5 separate regions of the Homo sapiens genome follow, and regions 2, 3, 4 and 5 are each linked to region 1. The links are contacts of gene promoters, found by promoter capture Hi-C in human tissues and cell types (Jung and others, 2019). All regions are on one chromosome and are shown on one strand. The core of a region is centred on a gene start or on the middle of the fragment in contact, and the rest is flanking DNA. Distances in the headings are between cores, read along the strand shown. Region 1 holds the start of UBE2R2 (ubiquitin conjugating enzyme E2 R2). Region 2 holds the start of GALT (galactose-1-phosphate uridylyltransferase). Region 3 holds the start of ARID3C (AT-rich interaction domain 3C). Region 4 holds the start of ENHO (energy homeostasis associated). Region 5 holds the start of FAM219A (family with sequence similarity 219 member A).

Region 1 (2,601 bases), core at 39-2,538:
CCTCAAAATGTCAGGGCACTCGGCAGCTTCTGAAATGACAAGCTGGTGCCCCTCCCCCACCCCACCCCCACCCCCACCCCCCAAAAAAGAAAAGTCCAATCCAGTCGGTGCAGGTCACCCTGCCCTCTGGGGCAGTTCCAGCCTGCGCAGGGAGGGGTTCCGACCGGAGAACGAAAAAGCACAGATAGACCACCGCTCTTTCCACCCACCCTCAGCGGGGGAAACAAAGGCGGCCTCCTCCGCCCGTAGACACTACCCTAACCAGAGAGGCTCTCCGATTTCCCGGTGCAGCCTGCCCTCCCGCCCCCGCCCGAGCCCCCGCCCCCATGACAAAGAAAAGGCACTCGGCGAGCAAGGCCTTCCTGCCTCCAGGGATGGGGGAGGGGGCTGCACGGGTGAGAAGCCCCCTCCACTCGCCCGTGCTCATACTCCTGGTCCCAGGAACTGCAGAAAGCGGCGGGGAGCCGGAGGCCTCGGCCGCGGAAGCAGGGTCCGGGAGGAGGGTGAGGGTACCTTGAAGTAGCCGCCTTCGTAGAGGGTGTTGGGGGGTCCGAAGATGGCCACCTCCCAGTTGTAGAGGTCGGACTCGTCCACCAGGGTGATCCGGAAGCCCTCCACCGGTTCCTCCTGCAGGGATTTCAGCTCGAGCATCAGGGCCTTCTGCGAGCTGGTCATCTGCTGCTGGGCCATCGCGGCGGCGGCGGCGGCGGCGGCGCCGGGCCCGGGCCCCAGTCCTCACGCACCGGCCGGGCCGGACCAGGCCCCTCCCCTCCGCTCGCCCTCCGGCCGGGCAGCACCGGGCCCCGGTCTTCACACACCCGGCGGGCCAGACCAGGCCCCACACGGCCCGTGGGCCCGCCCGGGGTCCTCCTCACACACGACGCAGGCCGGGCCGGGCCCTTCTCCTCACACTCGGGCCGGGCGAGAGGAGAGGTCGAGGGAGTTAGGAGAATTCGCTACGGGTCCCGGTCCCGGGCCTCCCCCCCCCGGAGGGGGCCTCAACTTGGGGGGGGGGAGAGGAGGTGGAAGCGGAGGAAGGCGGCGGAGGGCCGGCGATGGTGAAGGGAGGGGGCCGGGCCGGCCCGGGAACGCCGCGCTCGCTCGCCCTCTCGTTCTCTTCGGGGGCCGCAGGGGCCGGAGGGCGCGCGGGGCAGGAGAGGGTGGGGGGAGAGCGGCGTGCGGGGGTCTCGCGGCGGTGGCGGCGGGGGCTGCGCGGGGGGAGGGGCGACGGCGGAGGAGGAGGAGAGCGAGAGCGCCTCGCGCCGCGGGAGCAACGGAGCCGAGAAGCAGGGAGGGAGGGAGGGAGGGAGAGAGGGAGGAGGGGCGCACGCCGGGTGCTGGGCGGCTCTCAGCGGCTGGCGGCCCGACGCGCGTGCGCGTGCCCCTCCCTCCCCTCCCCCCACCGTGCCTGGCTCTCCTCCACTACCACCTCCTCCTCCTCCCGTTTCCACGCCTCCTCTCGGTCTCCCGCGCGGTCGCGGCGCTTTGTGACGCTGGCGCGTGTCCCCCGCCCATAAAGATCCCAGAAGCAGCGGGGACCAAGGGCGGGCGCAGGGATTGCCGTGGCCCCAGAGTGACGGTTGTGCGGCTGGACGCCGCAGTTCCAAAGGCGTGCCCGGGAAGGGAACCCAGGTCTCCCGGCTCTCGGGGCCCTCCCCACTGTGGATCCAGGGGCCTCCGCAGCCATCCTGGGACGGGCCTGGTCGCTGCAGGCCCCTCCCCGTGACACCCAGTCTGCGGTCCCTCCACTTAGTAGCTACTTGATTAGGATGTGCTGACAATGTGGGTCTTTTCGGTGGGAACAGACCTTCCCGCAGGCCAGCCCACAGGCAAGTGTGCCCTTTGGCACGTTACTCACCCTGGGTGCGGCAGTTCCACGTGAGAAACGGGGTGAGACAAAAAGGTCAGCTTCTGCTTCCCTTCTTAACTACAAAGAGGAAGTTGTGAGGAAAAAGACAATAACAAACTGGGTCTCTAGCCCTTCTCATTGTGATTTGGGGCAAGTGCTCAGGCTGCCCTTCGCCTTCGCCATTTGTAAAATAAACTACTGTGGTTGAACTTAGGGGTCAAAGTTCCCTATAGGTGCTTGTGGCTTGAATGTCCACCCTGGAACTGAGGGACTTTCGAGATAATCATAACCGAAGTGAGATGTGGGGACAGTCTTTGGTCCCCCCGTGGTTCAGAATACAGTACTCCTTTCTCCTAGGAAGGCATGTCCTAGGATAACTGCCTAAAAAACATTTCCTAGAAAAGCCAGAATATTGTGAGAGTTCTACACACACAGTTTCGGAACTAGACAGATCTTGGTTCCAACCCTAGTTCCATTACTTCTCCCTGTATCATCAGTTTTTTGTTTTTTGGTTTTGTTTTGTTTGAGACAGGGTCTTGCTCTGTCACCCAGGCTGTAGCACAGTGGCGCGATCATGGCCCACTGCAACCTCCGCCTCCCAGGTTCAAGCGATTCTCCCACCTCAGCCTCCCAAGTAGCTAGGACTACAGGTGCATGCCTCCACACCCGGCTGTTTAATCAGCTTCTGTAAAAGGGGATTAATTATACCCAACACAAGCAATTGTAATGATTAAATGTATGTACAGCATTTA
Region 2 (2,601 bases), core at 1-2,500, 830 kb before region 1:
ACTGAGGCCCATGCATCAACAACAGCCCGGATCTCAGGGACCGACATGAGTGGCAGCGTTACATCCGACCAGGGGTGGAAGCACATGACCTTACTGGGTGGTGACGGGAGAAAAGATAACCGAGAGGTAGGGCTTGGCTGTGCTACGGGCAGGGCCGAACCCCAATGCTGAGTCTCCAACTCTGGTTTGAAAGTTGTAAGAGGGGAAATCCATAGTTACCAGACTCCTCGAGCAGACTTTGCTTGGAAAAGGGGATGATCACTGGGTCCTGAGGTAAAGGAGTATCACTCTCTGCAGCAGAAGTCCCTCAAGAGGTCTAGCCACCCTCCTCCCCAGCAGCAGTTGGAGCCAGGTTACCTGGACTGGGGGCATCAGGCTGCAGAGCTGGGAAGTCGTTGTCAAACAGGAAGGTGCTATCGTACTGGGGATTCACCTACCGACAAGGATAGGCTAGAAGCACTCACTGCCCCATACCACCAGTTACCTGGTGGGCTTCAAAGACTGGACAGGCTACAAGGGAGTAGGGAAGGCCCACCCTAGGGGACCAAAAAGCTTGGTGGGATATGACCCAGAAGGAGGTTCACTATCCCTGTGGGTGGAGGACAGTTCTAAGAGGGAACTACTCCCCGTGGCCCAGCCTGCAGATGCAGGGCTCTACAGGCTTACCTCTCCGTTGGCTCGGATGGCCCCAGGACACAGAGGGTTGAGAGGGTCATGGCGGGGCACTGTCTTCAGAAGCTGGGGCTCCACTTGACCCTGCCAGGGCCGCTTCATGCGGTGAGCTGACACCAGCACCCACTCATCCTGCAGCGGGTTGTAGCGGATATGCTGATGGTCTGGGGGCAGACAGTCAAGATCAGTCCTCAGAGCTCTCTAGCTCCCTCTCTCCTGGGTCTCACCCACCAGCAGGCCCAAGCTCGGGAGCGCCCTCTCGGCCCTGTCCCGCTCAGGAGCTAGAGGCCCAGGATTGGACTTTCCCAGCGCCAATTGGCCTGCTGCTCGTACAGGCCTGCAGACTGTACGCCTTGTCGGTCTGGCTCGGGATGAGCGTTCCAACCTTCGGAGGGGACGAAAGCTTCCTAAGGAAGGGGAGGGCTCGGCTCCGCGCCCCAGCGAGTCCCTGCCGCGGTGCAGTTACCGTTTGCCCGGAAGGTTGCTGCTGCGGCGTCCGCCTCTGACGCCTGCTGGCGTTGCTGAGGATCGGTTCCACTGCGCGACATGAGGCCACCGGGGGATCCGCTGGAAAATCTGCAGGGCCGTGCCTCACCTTTCACTTTCTCCGTCCACACCACCCCTCCCCGCGCCGCCCCCGATGATTGGCCAGCCGCCAGCACGTGACTGACTGACTGGGCTGCCCTGCCACCTGGGGGCGGGGCTCAGAACAGCTGTGAACCCTGGGGGCCGACATTGATGATCCTACTTCACCCAGAGCTAGAGCCACTACACTGGAAGAACCTCTGTGAAAGCTGCCTACTGCAGAATCCTTGGGCTCCAGGATGCCTACAGGACTTGCTTGCTGCAATCATTCATTTGATCTTTCATTCAGCAAATATTTACCAAGCATCTAGCATGTGCTAGGCACCTAGGCTGTGTAAAGCATTGGGATGCACATGTCAGGCATGGCCTCTGCCCTGCCTGAGCTTACATTCTAGGGCGAGTAAGGATATGACCCTGGATCAACAGCGCCTCAGTCACCTGCTCAGTGGCTGTAGCGCAGGAGAGGCAAACTTGGTGGGGTCTGTGTGGAGTACTTCACCATAACCATATCCTATCCCCAAAAGCAAAAACAGATTTGGGAAAAAGGGCTAAGTAACCATATTCTCTTTTTCTCTCACTCTTGCTCTCCTTCCTCTCTCTCTCTCTCTCTTTTTCATACACACACCAAGACAGCACAAGAAGTGGGAGGGGTAAAAGGGCTATAAAAAAAAATCTAAAAATGGCCGGGCTCGGTGGCTCACGCCTGTAATCCCAACACTTTGGGAGACCAAGGCAGGCGGATCACAAGGTCAAGAAATTGAGACCATCCTGGCCAACATGGTGAAACCCCGTCTCTAGTAAAAAAAAAAAAAAAAAAAATTAGCTGGTCTTGGTGGCGTGCACCTGTAGTCCCACCTACTCGGGAGGCTGAGGCAGGAGAATCACTTGAACCCAGGAGGCAGAGGTTGCAGTGAGCCGAGATTGTGCCCATGCACTCTAGCCTGGCGACAGAGCAGACTCCGTCACAAAAAAAAAAAAAAAAGTACAAGAAAGTCTAAAAATGTGGAGAGTACAGGACTATCAGAAGCTCCAGCCACCATCTAGGTGGGGCCTAGTGTTTCCTTTACACATCCCCTTCCCTTTTCTAAATTTTCCTTGGATGGGACCAATTGGCTAACACTAGGATAAAATTCAAATTAATTCCTCCCCTGGTACTTTTGTTTGTTTGTTTGTTTGAGAGAGAGTCTCACTCTGCCACCCAGGCTGGAGTGCAGTGGCGTGATCTTGGCTCACTGCAACCTCCACCTCCCAGGTTCAAGCGATTCTCCTGCCTCAGCCTCCAAGTAGCTGGAATTAGAGCTGTGTGCCACCACACTGGGCTAATTTATGTATTTTTAGTAGAGA
Region 3 (2,601 bases), core at 46-2,545, 810 kb before region 1:
GAGGATTCCCGGGAGGAGTGGGGTCCAGGCTGTTCAGAGCAGAAATTCTGAGAGGCCTGCCACTCAGAACCCCCAAATAAGGAACAGCATTTCAGCGTCTTGGGAATAGTTAGGGGGAGGGCGCAAAGCAGTGGGCTGAGGGGGTCTGGAGATACAGATGTGGCAGTCAGGCACACATAGGTGGAGAATGTGTGTGAACATGGGCGAAGTGCCGGTCACTGTTGAAACAAACCTATGATGAGTACCAGAGGTTCATTATACTATTCACTTGTCTATGTTTCAAAATTTTCATAATACAGGCTGGGTACGGTAGCTCATGCCTGTAATCCCAGCACTGTGGGTGGCCAGGGTGGGTGGATCACTTGAGGTCAGGAGTTCGAGACCAGCCTAGCCAAAATGGTGAAACCCCATCTCTACTAAAAAGACAAAAATTAGCCGGGTCTGGTGGTGGACGCCTGTAATCCCAGCTAATTCCAGCTATTCGGGAGGCTGAGGCAGTAGAATCACTTGAACCTGGGAGGCGGAGGCTGCAGTGAGCCCAGATCGCGCCACTGCACTCCAGCCTGGGTGACAGAGACTCTGTCTCCAAAAAAGAAAAAAAAGAAAAGAAAGAAAAAGAAAAGAAAAGAAAATTTCCATAATAGAATGTCAAAAGAGACAAAAACTGTGTGTGGCTGTGTATCTGCATGCGGTGAGTGTGCAGTCAGCTTAAAGACCTCTGAGAGTGTGTGAGTGCATAGGTGTGGGTCCACCACCATGTGCACTCATGTGTGCAAACCGCAGCATGCCCGCAGTGGGGGACAGCACGTAGGCAGGGCAGGGGTGCTCAAGGCAAAGGGAGAAGCTTCTATTCTGACCAGACCCTCCACGCACACCCCAGCATCTTGCAGAGGGATTCCCCTCTTGATCACAGCGTGCCCAGGCCATTGGCACTGTGGTGACCATGTCACGGAACGTGTGAGACTGGGAAGCTATGCGCCTGAACTTGTGACAAGGTGTGTTGGTGTGTGGATGCGGCTATTTGTATGTGGAAGCCCAGTGCCGAGTGTGGGTGTCGGGGGCACGACTTGTGAGGCTGGGCGGGGCTCTGGTCCGGAGTCCGGTGGCGGTAGAGCCCTCATTTTCGCACGATTCCCCCGCAGCTTTCCAGCGCCCCCTGCCCCCGAAGCTGGCTGGAAAGAAGGTGGGAGACACCTGTTGGGGAGCTGAGAGCGGCAGATCCCACAGGGGCCTCTCCCCATGCGCCCCGCCCGCCCTGCCCCGCTCGGGTCCCGCCCCCGCGGCCGCCGCAAGCAGCGCGGCGAGTGAGCGCACAGCCGCCAGAGGAGCACAGGGCGGCGGGAGCGCACCGCCGGGACCCAGCCGAGGCCAGGGCCGCCTGGGAGGCGGGCGGAGCAAAGGCAGCGCCGTGGAGACGCCAGGGGCAGCGGGCCACGCCAGGCAGGTGAGTGCGGCCGCGGGGCGCCCGGAGCGAGGGAGCCGGGCGTCGCGACTCTGCCGCCTCCTGCCCGTCCGGTCCCGTGCCCGTCCCAGGCTCTGCCCCACCGCCCTCCATCCCCGCGACTCCTTGGTCCCTGTCCTCTGCCCCTCTCTCCGGCTGTTTTTCCCGTCCCTGTCTCTGTCGGTCCCTCTCTATTTAACTGTCTCTTTCTAATCTCTCTCTTCTGTCCGTTTCCTGCTGTCTTGGTCTTTCCCTATATCTCAACCCCTGTCTATTTGTCTATCTCCGCCTCTGTCTCTCCGTCTCTGTCCGTCTCTGAGCTACCTGTCACTTAGGTCTTTTATCTGTTGCTCCTCTACCTCTCTTACCCTCCCTGTCTCTCTACCCAATATTCTATCTCTCTCCATCTCTGTCTGTCTACCCTGTCTCTGCCTGATACCTCTGCCTCTCTCCATCTTGGTCCCTCTCAGTCTCTGTGTCACCCCACTTCTGTCTCTCCTTGTCACCCTGTTCCATCTCTATTTTCACATCTCCCTGTCATTGTCTCTGTCGGACATCCCCCTTCTCCTTTTCTTTCTCTCTCCCTTCCTTCACCATTTCCCGATGTCTCTTGGTCCCCGTCACCCTCTCTGATCTGCTCACTCTTCCAGTCCTCAGTCAATGGCCATTTGATTCCCCGGGTCTGGTCCTGTTTCTGTTCACCTCTGGGAAAGCCATCTTTCTGCCTCTTTCCTTGTGACCCCTGCACTTCCCTGAATCCATGACCACCTCCCCCTGTGTTGGGGGGCTCTGGGGGCAGTAGGGCCCAGCACCCATAATTCCCTCCCCCACAGGCGGCCCTTTCCTCGGGGTCCCGCCTGGTACCAGGGACCCCCTCAGCTGGGGGACTGCGCCTGGAAGCTGTCATGGAGGCCCTGCAGAAGCAGCAGGCAGCTCGGCTGGCCCAGGGGGTGGGGCCATTGGCCCCTGCATGCCCGCTGCTGCCACCGCAGCCTCCCCTGCCTGACCACCGGACCCTACAGGCCCCTGAGGGGGCCTTGGGGAATGTTGGGGCTGAGGAAGAGGAAGATGCTGAAGAAGATGAGGAGAAGCGGGAGGAAGCCGGGGCAGAGGAGGAGGCAGCTGAGGAGAGCCGTCCAGGGGCCCAGGGCCCCAGCTCG
Region 4 (2,601 bases), core at 29-2,528, 710 kb before region 1:
AGTGAATAACAACCCTGAGAGGTAGCATTACAACCATTTTACAGATGAGGAAGCTGAGGCTAAGAGAGATTTAGTAACTTGCTCAAGATCACAAAGTTAGTAAGTGAACCAGGAATCAATACTGCCCCGATTACAGTAGGCACTTAGTTATATGAGTCTAGGATTCCAGAGAGAAGTTAAGGCTAGACTTGGGAGCACTGGGAGTCTTCATGATATAGCTTCAGGGATGTGATCCTCCAAGGAGAGCATGTAGAGCGGGATGAGAAGACGGCCGGATCAGAATAGGTGACAATCACTGGCCTGTGAAGGTCGGGGAGGACAAGGTCTACCTCACTGCTCCTGTCCAAGCTATCTTCTTCTTAGGGGAGCTTTTAGGATGGCAAGGCAGGATTTCCACCACGCCTGCACCTATTCCAGCCAGGGCAGAACCATCGCTCAGGACACTCCATTTCTGTCCCAGACTCCCCAACAGCCTGGCAGCAAGCCTGCGACCAACACTGGGTAGGAACTCAGTAAATGTGTCCAAAGAACCTGTGTTGCCAGAGATTTTCACACCTCTTAGGGCCAGGGAACCTGGGGCCCTCTAAAGTGGGAATGCAGAGTCCACACCCAGGTGGCAGAGGGAAGTGCGGGACTGCACTATAGGCGGTTCCCTAGGTGAGGAGATTCAGTCTCCTGCCAGGTGTGGGGACGCGGGGCCTTCCTCCGGATGACTTACTTAAGAGACCTCTCCCAGATACAGAGGGGTGGTTTCCTCACATGTGGAAATGCAGAGGCCTTGGCCTTTCTCGGATGTGGGGTGTACAACCCTTCCAGGTGTAGAAGGTGCAAGAAATCCCTACCAGAGGTTAGGCCTTGCCCCCACCCCATCCCCTCTCCCGGGAAGGATCCAGGGCCAGCTACTCCTTCGGCCCTCCTCCCGCCCCGCGCCGGCACGAGAGGCGGGCTGGTCCCCACCTCAGCGCACCACCAATGGTGCGGGAACCGGGGTTCGGCCAGCCAATTGAGTGGCGGCAGCGGCGCTGGGATGGCTCCGCCCCCGGGCCGCAGGCCGCCGGCCTCCCAGGAGGCGAGGCTCTTCGCTGTTTTTGCTGGCCGCCGAGCCCGGCCGAGCCCAGCCGAACGTAGCCGAGCCCAGCCGAGCCCAACCGAACGCAGCCGAGCCCAGCCGAACACCGCGCAGCTCCCGCCGCCGCCGCCCGAGCGCTGCCGAGCGAGCGAGCGCCGCGGCCGCGGAGGAGGTGCGGCCCCAAGGGGAGGAGGTGCCCGCTCACCGCAGACCGCCCGCGGCAGAGGCCGCCCCGGTCGCGCCGCGGCGGGAGCGGCCGGTGGAGGCTGCGCGGCCGAGGGGGAGGGCCGGGGGAGCGGACGTCGCCTCTGCTGGTCTCCCACCTCCCGCCGCCCCCCGCCCGCAGGCTCCCAAGCCTTAGTCGGCGCCGAGCATCCCGCTGCCCCGGACCCTCCCGCGGGCGCGCACCAGGCTCAACTCAGGTAAGAAGGGCCTCCCGCCACGGGCACGGGGGCCAAGAACACGCGACCCGAAGATGGAGATAAAGAGACAGAGACACACTGCCGCGGAGAGAGACGAACACAAAGACAGAGACACAGGAACCACCGAAAAGACCCCACGGAGAAGGGGATAGGGACACGTCCATGGGAACAGAGGGGGATACAGCCTGGAAGAGAGAGAGAGACACAGAGACTGATGCAGAGATACACAGAGACACACTGGTAGAGAAATGAGACATAGAGGAGACATACTCAGAGATGGGGACACACGGAGAGGCAGCCACACACACAGAGGTGGGTGTGCAGAGGCACAGGCACACATCCAACGGAGGGACAGTGAGACACCAGACACACACACACACCTGACCCAGAGAGGCAGCCCCACATAGAGGCACACAGCCCTGGACGCACAGAGCCTGCACATGCCTGCCAGGGCCTCCACAAAGTTCCCTCTGTGCAAGCTGGCGCCTCTGGAGGTCTCCTGGTCGGGCTGGCTGGAGTCCTGGGAGAGAGGAGGCGCCCAGGCCACACCAGAGCTGCTTACAACCCCCATCCTTTTGGGCTGGGGGCTTCCTGGATCCCACCCACCAACAGAGGGCTTTTGAGGGCTGCAAGCTTGGTGGGCAGGACCAGGGCATGCCCACCAGGTCTAAGGAGAATGAGATGACGGCTGCCTACTGCAGCTTCCCCACGGTGGCTACACACTCATTCAGGTGGCCAGAACCAAGCCTGTGGATGGGGGTGATGGCTCTGTGGGGTATTCGAGCCTGTTGGGACCCAAGGTCTTTCACCAGGGAGGCCAGAAATGTGGGAGGGAGGCTCTCTTCCCTACCTCTCTCCTCCTAGGCCTCACCCCACCCTTCCTCCTCACCACCCTCTCCTTTACTGTATACCCCCAACAGGCTCAGGACTGCAGGTAGACATCTCCACTGCCCAGGAATCACTGAGCGTGCAGACAGCACAGCCTCCTCTGAAGGCCGGCCATACCAGAGTCCTGCCTCGGCATGGGCCTCACCATTGAGGCAGCTCCACTGTCTGTGCTGGTCTGAGGGTGCTGCCTGTCATGGGGGCAGCCATCTCCCAGGGGGCCCT
Region 5 (2,601 bases), core at 62-2,561, 640 kb before region 1:
CCTGCACATAGCCTGTCCTGTATTCTGTTTAGTTCTCTTGCACACCCTCTGTGGGCTCCCAAACAGCAAGAGCTGTGTTCCCACCTAGCCTGGAGCTAGGCACACAGCAAAGGGTTGGATAAAGAATGCCTTTGAGGCTGGGCGCCGTGGCTCACGCCTGTAATCCCAGCACTTCGGAAGGTCAAGGTAGGAGGATCGCTTGAGCTCAGGAGTTAGAGACGGGCCTGGGCAACATGGGGAAACCCCGTCTCTACCAAAAACACAAAATTTAGCCGGGCGTGGTGGCCTATGCCTTTGGTTCCAGCTATTCGTCAGGCTGAAGTGGGAGAATCGCTTGCACCCAGGAGGCAGAGGTTACAGAGAGCTGAGATGGCGCCACTGCATTCTAGCCTGGGCTACAGGGCGAGCCTCTGTCTCAAAAAAAAAAAAAGAAAGAAAGAAAGAAAAAGAAAAAGAAAAATTCCTTTGGGACAAGAATGTGAGAACAAGGAGGAAGGGACTCGTGGGAATGGGGATGGGGAAGTTAAGGAGAATAGACTGGTCAGAATGAGTCCATGGGGTAAAGTGAAGTGAAGAGATGGGAATGGTGGATAAAAGGAGAGAGGTAAGAAACGGTGGATTGGGGTAGTATGGGAGAGGAGGCCGGGATTAGTGGGAAAGAGTAGGACAGAGTCAGAGGTCAGTGGGAGCACTTACCAGAGGTCACGGGGGTGAGAAGGCTGGGGTCAACAGAGAAAAGATCAAGGATCAGTAGGAGAGGTATGATTAGTGGTCACTGGCGACGACGAAGGTCAGAGGTCATCAGAAGGAAGGTGTGCGTACGTTACCTGCTTATGAGGCTGTTTATGGGGAGCCTTCGCAGAAGCAGGAATCATCTCAACCCCTGGAGAGCCTACAAAACGCTCCCTCGTCTGAAGACAAAAAGTTTGTCCGTCTCCTTGACCACACACAAGAAATCTGGACTCTCTTCCACTTCAGTTACCAGTCGCAACGGTTCTTTAGGGACAGCCGTCGTTGTGGGTCCCCGTGCCCTTGCAGGATAGAATCCAACTCCCTGACGCGGTTACCCAGCAACCGACCAGCAGCCAAGGCGCAGGCGCTTCGGCGCGCCCAGCCGGCCCGGAAAGGAGGCGGGGTTGGGCGCGCGGCGAGCGAGTCTCCACTAAGCCCCGCCCCCTCAGGAATCACAGCTGGGCGGCCGCGCGCATTCGGAACTCCCGCATGTGGGTGGGGCTGGGGTCCCCAGGCACCGCCTCCTCATGAATAATGCAAGATCCGGGCGGTGTCCCGGACCCGGAAGTGGAGTTGCCGAGTCACCGCAGTGGCTGAGCTGCTGACAGGAGGCGGCAGCGGAGTAGGAGGCGAGGCAAGACCTGCGGCTCGGCCCGGCCACAGCCGCGGTAGTGCTAGGCAAGCCCACGGAGTCACGCCGGCCTCAGCCAGTCTGCGAACCTCTCGCCCCCGCCCACCCCTGCATCCGCCCGGCCCCTGCCCGCCCGAGTGGTCCGGGGAGGCCTAGTCTGCACCACCCGCCGGGCTCCTGGGGCCGCCGCCCCGCGCGGTCCTGTCGGCGTCCGCGGCCGCGCCCGGCCCCTGGCCCGCTCGCCCGCCGGCACCATGATGGAGGAGATCGACCGGTTCCAGGTGCCCACCGCGCACTCGGAGATGCAGCCGCTGGTGAGGGGGCGGGCGGCGGGCAGGCCAAGGCCGGAGGGGGCGTCGCTTGAGGGGGAGGGAGGGAATCAGGCCGGGGGGATCGTGCGGAGGGGCGCCATCGGATGGGGCAAAGAGATCCCTGAAAACGTATTGCCGGGGGACGGGGACTTGCAGGACAAGAAAACCGTGGGAGAATATGCTGGATGAGAGCAAAGGGACCTGTAAGGGCGGAGGGCACCGTCGGTGGAAGCAGGGCACCGTCGGATGGAACGGAGGGGGCACAAAGGTGCACACCGCTAGTGGAGGCCCATAGCAGGGACTGGCGAGGGAACTGCCATGGGGCACCGCCGGCGGCAGGCCCAGGGGTCTGGGATGGGAGGTGGGGAGGCGTTTAGTCCTAGAGGCCTGTGATGCTTAGGGCGGGGGAGCCGTCAGGCTAAGAGAGATTGGGAATCAGCTTTTAGAAGAGGAGGGGCTTGCCCGCCTGTCCGCTGGATATACGGACAGGAACGCTGGGCCGGGGCGAGGGACCCAGTGGGGGAAGGTGGTTGGTGCAGAACCTGGGAATTCCGTTCTCCGGTGGGGAGCGCAGGCAGACCAGGCTGGGGGCATCTAAACCGGGAAGGAGAGTGCGCGGCGACCAGATGGGGAATCGGGGTGCAGATGAGAGTGCTCGGGAACCGACGGGAGAGGAAGTGGGGTCGCGCTGGAGCTGCCTGTGCGCACTGGTTGGGAAGAGCCCCCATCATCTTAGGCCTACGTGCCTGAAGTCCTTGCTGGGCGCGGATCCTGCCGCCTGTCCGCGGTCCCGGAGTCAGGGAGGAATGATGTCATCGCTGCTGGCGCGGAGGGAATGGAAGGGGGAGGGCAACTCGGGTGCACCGAGGCTAGGCCTAAGGGAGACCATGCTTGCTGGCCACCGCCCAGGGGGCTCCCTGACCTCGC

What was found. Contacts are between HindIII fragments. The study calls those that stand out against the background at their distance.
Region 2: a contact is called between the fragment with the promoter of GALT here and the fragment with the promoter of UBE2R2 in region 1, in 1 of the 25 tissues and cell types used here (dorsolateral prefrontal cortex).
Region 3: a contact is called between the fragment with the promoter of ARID3C here and the fragment with the promoter of UBE2R2 in region 1, in 1 of the 25 tissues and cell types used here (lymphoblastoid cells).
Region 4: the fragment with the promoter of ENHO here is called in contact with the fragment with the promoter of UBE2R2 in region 1 in 2 of the 25 tissues and cell types used here (dorsolateral prefrontal cortex and lymphoblastoid cells).
Region 5: the fragment with the promoter of FAM219A here is called in contact with the fragment with the promoter of UBE2R2 in region 1 in 1 of the 25 tissues and cell types used here (dorsolateral prefrontal cortex).

What each region holds. Positions count from the first base shown.
Region 1 is chr9:33,815,847-33,818,447 of GRCh38, reverse strand. It overlaps UBE2R2 (ubiquitin conjugating enzyme E2 R2), which reads right to left and starts at 1,288. Exons shown (of 5, transcript NM_017811.4): 1 at 514-1,288. The coding sequence starts at 690. The region is part of intron 1 of UBE2R2-AS1 (UBE2R2 antisense RNA 1); the gene reads left to right. RefSeq lists silencers at 669-838, 909-1,118, 1,299-1,398 and an enhancer at 1,689-1,778. The HindIII fragment of the contact is 14,786 bases long and covers 1-2,601 here.
Region 2 is chr9:34,645,324-34,647,924 of GRCh38, reverse strand. GALT (galactose-1-phosphate uridylyltransferase) reads right to left here and starts at 1,250. Exons shown (of 11, transcript NM_000155.4): 1 at 1,139-1,250; 2 at 667-836; 3 at 358-433; 4 at 220-268; 5 at 1-93. The coding sequence starts at 1,220. RefSeq lists enhancers at 646-825, 1,396-1,505. The HindIII fragment of the contact is 1,689 bases long and covers 815-2,503 here.
Region 3 is chr9:34,627,760-34,630,360 of GRCh38, reverse strand. It overlaps ARID3C (AT-rich interaction domain 3C), which reads left to right and starts at 1,295. Exons shown (of 8, transcript NM_001017363.4): 1 at 1,295-1,444; 2 at 2,275-2,601. The coding sequence starts at 2,347. RefSeq lists silencers at 1,177-1,336, 1,387-1,486. The HindIII fragment of the contact is 10,650 bases long and covers 1-2,601 here.
Region 4 is chr9:34,521,667-34,524,267 of GRCh38, reverse strand. It overlaps ENHO (energy homeostasis associated), which reads left to right and starts at 1,278. Exons shown (of 2, transcript NM_198573.3): 1 at 1,278-1,491; 2 at 2,412-2,601. The coding sequence starts at 2,573. RefSeq lists silencers at 853-1,222, 1,243-1,352 and an enhancer at 1,982-2,534. The HindIII fragment of the contact is 6,325 bases long and covers 1-2,601 here.
Region 5 is chr9:34,457,280-34,459,880 of GRCh38, reverse strand. It overlaps FAM219A (family with sequence similarity 219 member A), which reads left to right and starts at 1,311. Exons shown (of 6, transcript NM_001184940.2): 1 at 1,311-1,677. The coding sequence starts at 1,618. It overlaps DNAI1 (dynein axonemal intermediate chain 1), which reads right to left and starts at 1,076. Exons shown (of 20, transcript NM_012144.4): 1 at 828-1,076. The coding sequence starts at 875. RefSeq lists enhancers at 950-1,019, 1,116-1,410, 973-1,513 and a silencer at 1,390-1,639. The HindIII fragment of the contact is 10,660 bases long and covers 1-2,601 here.